Linked DNA regions of Homo sapiens: region 1 is linked to region 2. The links are contacts of gene promoters, found by promoter capture Hi-C in blood cells and fetal thymus (Javierre and others, 2016). All regions are on one chromosome and are shown on one strand. The core of a region is centred on a gene start or on the middle of the fragment in contact, and the rest is flanking DNA. Distances in the headings are between cores, read along the strand shown.

Region 1 (2,700 bases), core at 46-2,545, 57 kb after region 2:
TTAAGTATGGTGGCTGAAAAATTGCATGTGCTACTTCTGATGTTTTCTGGTTCTCTTGAGAACTTGTGAATGTGAGTATTAGAGATTTTCACTGGCTTGGCTACTTCTGCCATTTTTATCGGGGATGCCTACTCATTCTTACAATCTGATTCTCTAAATATTGGAATGAATTGTGGAAAATTACTATTTAACTGACCCTATTCTGTTCTCTGTAGATGTTTATTATGGAAAATCAGAGTGGGGTTCGAACTGTACTGGCTGTGTGGGAATATTCTCTATTTTCTTCTTTGGCCAGGCATTTTTAAGCTCTTCCTCTACCCCAAGAGATTCTGCTGTTTTTCTTTCTTTCTTTCTTTTCTCTTTCTTTCCTTCTCTCTTTCTTTCTTTCCTTTCTTTCTTTTTTCCTTCCTTCCTTCCTTCCTTCCTTCCTTCCTTCCTTCCTTCCTTCCTTCCTTCTCTCTCTCCTTCCTTCCTTCTTTCTTTCTTTCTTTGTTTCCTTCTTTCTTTCTTTCTCTTTTTTTTTTTTTTTTGGCACCGTCTCACTCTACTGCACAGGCTGGAGTGGTGCAGTGGTGCAAACCCAGCTCAGTGCAGCCTCAAACTCCTGGGGTCAAGCAATCCTCCCACCTCAGCCTCCTGAGTAGCTGAGACCACAGGGATGAGCCACCACACATAGCTTTTTTTTTTTTTTTTTTTAAATATTGCAGAGAGGAGATTTTGCCACATTGCCCAGGCTGGTCTTTAACTCTTGAGCTCAAGTGATCTGCCTTGCCTTGGTCTCTCAAAGTACTGGGATTACAGTTGTAAGCCACCAGGCCCAGCCCAACTATTTTTCTTGTCTGGCACTATAGATTAATTTTATTAACTTTCAATATTTTTATTCATTCTATTAGTACTGAGGAGGAATTGTAAGTGTCCTGAATTCATTCTATCATCCTTCTCCAGAAGTTGTGTCTGGAGGGTATGTCAGTATATATAAATTAATTTATTTATCACAAGTAATTATGACAGTCACATCTTAAGAATAAGTTATTTTAATTATTCAATAAAGAGTTAACTGTAGGAATGACCATAGTTAATACACACTAAATCACTTGCTTCAGTCATTAGTAGACAGCACATCTAGTACTACAAGTCTTTTGATTTGGCATCAAATCCAACATACCTTTTATTATGCTTTTCACTTTTTGCTCTTCTGTTAGAAGTTGTTTCACTAAAAATATATTATAGCTCCATCATGTATTCATCTGACTAAATTCCACTGTGCATCTTCTTTCTTATTGCAGCTCAAATGATGAGACTTATGAAAGAGGTTCGAGGCAGAAATCAAACAGAAGTAACAGAATTTCTCCTCTTAGGACTTTCCGACAATCCAGATCTACAAGGAGTCCTCTTTGCATTGTTTCTGTTGATCTATATGGCAAACATGGTGGGCAATTTGGGGATGATTGTATTGATTAAGATTGATCTCTGTCTCCACACCCCCATGTATTTCTTTCTCAGTAGCCTCTCTTTTGTAGATGCCTCTTACTCTTCTTCCGTCACTCCCAAGATGCTGGTGAACCTCATGGCTGAGAATAAGGCCATTTCTTTTCATGGATGTGCTGCCCAGTTCTACTTCTTTGGCTCCTTCCTGGGGACTGAGTGCTTCCTGTTGGCCATGATGGCATATGACCGCTATGCAGCCATTTGGAACCCCCTGCTCTACCCAGTTCTCGTGTCTGGGAGAATTTGCTTTTTGCTAATAGCTACCTCCTTCTTAGCAGGTTGTGGAAATGCAGCCATACATACAGGGATGACTTTTAGGTTGTCCTTTTGTGGTTCTAATAGGATCAACCATTTCTACTGTGACACCCCGCCACTGCTCAAACTCTCTTGCTCTGATACCCACTTCAATGGCATTGTGATCATGGCATTCTCAAGTTTTATTGTCATCAGCTGTGTTATGATTGTCCTCATTTCCTACCTGTGTATCTTCATTGCCGTCTTGAAGATGCCTTCGTTAGAGGGCAGGCACAAAGCCTTCTCCACCTGTGCCTCTTACCTCATGGCTGTCACCATATTCTTTGGAACAATCCTCTTCATGTACTTGCGCCCTACATCTAGCTACTCAATGGAGCAAGACAAGGTTGTCTCTGTCTTTTATACAGTAATAATCCCTGTGCTAAATCCCCTCATCTATAGTTTAAAAAATAAGGATGTAAAAAAGGCCCTAAAGAAGATCTTATGGAAACACATCTTGTAGAGCCATGTTACCCATCATTTGTTACGTAGAAGAAAATACATTTTCATGTTAACTGTATTCTCTGATTGTTTAAGCTGTTTCTCTGTGTTAAAGTAGATAATTTAAAATGAAGTATACTTTTTAATATCCTAGTATCTCATATATATATACACACACACACACGGGTCCCTTTGATGCACCAATACACTAGATGAAGGTTGGGACTGGAAAAAGTATCAAAACACTTGGAATTGGCTAATCTGGACTTAAGTTTTAATTTAAATATTAAGCTTATCTCAGTCTGAGTTTTATTATACAAACATTGGTGTCTTTGGGTTCTGGGCAAACAAACTGAGACAGAGAGATATTTTTAGGCAGAAAGTTTATCAGAGTGTTCTCACAAACAATATATAGTGAGGGGAGCAGGATTGGACAGAAGGAGTTGAATTGTGACGAAGACTGAGCCACTGTTACAT
Region 2 (2,700 bases), core at 35-2,534:
GAATCTCACCTATGGGGAAAGAAAATGAGCTCAGTTTGCATTACTGTCATGAATATGTAGAATTATGTTACATAAGATCACATTTGCAGTGTTTCGTGAAGTCTAGAACCAACAATCTAATTGTTTGTTTTAGAAAGTCTTCATTTTGCAACAATCAGGCTTTGCAATTATGTATTCAATTCTAAATTTCTTAAGTTGTTTAATTATGTTTTTCCTTTAGGAATGACTGTTCAAGTGAAGAAAAGATGTACTTATAATTGCTATTTTTCTTATACTTTGATCCTCTTCCTTTTGTCAATTTTCTCTTTTGCTAAATGTGTACATTTCTATTTTTAAGTATCACTTGTTTGTCTTTAAAATACTGGGCATCCCTCTTTTAAATATAGTTTAAAAAGAATAAAGTATTTTTCCTCTAGTTTCTATGCATTGAAACATTATGAAAGCATTATAAATTCATATCTCATAATATTATATATAGGCCTAAGAAAATACTAAGAAAAGTATAAAGGGAAAAGAGAATAGATACAATGTTTTGGGGAAAATGTGTACAGAAGAATGATATACAATGATGAAATTACGAAGTACACAGTATTTACTATATTTTACACATATTCTATAATAAACACAATAATAACAATAATTGAAACACCAGTTTTAAATGTAATTTATGTATACTACAGTATTTCTTATGATGACTTGAAAATCTACCCACTCTCTTCAGGATTCTCTTCATATAGAACTACAAATGTTCTATTGAAATGGGTAGAGCAAAATATATCTAGCATACATCTGTCTTACACTGTAAAGACAATTCTTGACAGACTAACTTCTCATTAACCTAAGTCATTTTGTAGGTAAATAAGTTAAAATTCAAGTGTACATGATTTGTATTTGTATGATCTTCCTCTTGGGACCTAGGAAAAACACTCAGTTCACACTCAACTCTCAATATTAGCATTAATAAACATCAATGTTAGTAAACAGTGTTATTTCTGAGTAAATATAGAACAATATAAGATTGTTCCACTTGAGCTTTTGCTACCTCTACTCCATTCAAGTTGCAATGATCTCACATGATTAAACCGAATGATGAAGTTCTCTTCTGATTAGATCTACCTGCAGCGTTTGTCATAGTTTCTCACTCCTTCTCTGCTGGAAAATCTTTACTTGGTTTTCAGGTTGTCATACCTGTCTGGTTTGCTTCTACTTCTCTTGCTGCATGTGTCTCAGTGCTACAGAACAGACTTTTGAACTTTGGAGTGTCCCCAGAATCAGCGCTTGAACCACTGGTCTTCTCCATCTGCCATCAGTTTCTGGTAATCTCATCCAATCTGATGACTTTAAATGCTTCCATATGCACATGACTCCAATGTTACCTCCCCTGACTATGCCTCCTCCCTGAAGTGAGACTCATGGATTCCAATGCCCAATTAATATTTCTTCCCTAATGTCTCCTGGGCATCTTAAGAAAATTGAGTTCACAGGGAATACTGTTTTATCATTGTATTCTAAGAGCTATATTATTTGCTTAAGTGTTATCATTAAGAAAAAAATTTTACTAACAATCCTCCCTAACCTGATCCTCATTCAGTCTTCTCCACTGCAGTAAATGGCATTATTCCATGTTAGGGAGAGTCGTTTTATATTATTCTTGACCACTCTCTTTCTTACACTCTGTCGCTTATTAATTAGCAACATCTCCTAGATTCTACCTTCAAAATGCATCTAGAACATGACTAGTTTCTCCCAGCTCCAGTGTTTTCACTCTACATGGGGCCATGATTGGCCTCTAATTGGTCTTCCTGCTTTTATTCTTATCCCACTTGAGTCTTTCCACATGGCAGCCAAAATGGTCCTGTTAAAATGCCAGTTAGATCATGTTAGTTTTCTCTTCTAAGAACTCCATCCAATGACTTTTCCACTTATTCAGAGTAAAAGTTAGACTCTTACAAAGATGTGCAAGATCTTTGTGCTTTTGCCCTCTTTACTCACTTGCTTGTGTCTCCTACTCTTTTCCTCTTTGTTCAATCCATTCCAAAGGGTTTCTAGAATAACATGGTATGATCTAGAATTCAGTTTCTAGAATAACATAGTATGATTCTATAATTCAGTTTCTAGAATACCATGGTATGAGCAATGCCTTGCCTTCACTCCACGCTGTTGTTGCAATGCTCTTCCCCTTAGGAGTCTTTATAGCCAGTTCCCTCACATTTCTCAGTTCTTAACGGCTTCTAAAGTTGTTCCCTGATCACCATATTGCAACCTACTTCCCTGAAATTCTTATGTCCCTTTCCTACTTCACTGTTGTCTTGTAGCTCTGCTTGTTATCTTATATTACGTCTCATTAGTTTAACTTCTGTTATTTTCCCTTCATTAGAAAATGCTCTTTTTCCATCTGCATTTGTTGGAAAACATGTATCATTTTAATGTTAAATCATTTTGATTTGTAGTTTCATTCTGTGGCCATATGGGCTGTTTGTCTTAAATTGATTACTTCATACAAAATTAGAACAATTTTTTGGATGAGGCAACATCTTTGAAAACATGGAACCAAGGGAACTCCAAGGGGTTTCTTGAAGAAAAAATTTGAAAACTGCTGGACTCAACATCTTCTGATTCTAATATTCTCTCTAATGATGATTCGGGGATTGGATCATTTATAAAAGCAATAACTATCATTTAAGAACACTTCACTCTAAA

The links. Contacts are between HindIII fragments. The CHiCAGO score rates a contact against its expected background, and 5 or more counts as called.
Region 1: the fragment with the promoter of OR5AP2 here is called in contact with the fragment with the promoter of OR9G1 in region 2 in 3 of 17 cell types (neutrophils, total B cells and naive B cells); the score reaches 8.6 in neutrophils.

What each region holds. Positions count from the first base shown.
Region 1 is chr11:56,641,034-56,643,733 of GRCh38, reverse strand. It overlaps OR5AP2 (olfactory receptor family 5 subfamily AP member 2), which reads left to right and starts at 1,295. Exons shown (of 1, transcript NM_001002925.1): 1 at 1,295-2,245. The coding sequence starts at 1,295. The coding sequence ends at 2,245. The HindIII fragment of the contact is 8,469 bases long and covers 1-2,516 here.
Region 2 is chr11:56,697,679-56,700,378 of GRCh38, reverse strand. OR9G1 (olfactory receptor family 9 subfamily G member 1) reads right to left here and starts at 1,284. Exons shown (of 2, transcript NM_001005213.2): 1 at 1,189-1,284; 2 at 1-9. The HindIII fragment of the contact is 13,944 bases long and covers 1-2,700 here.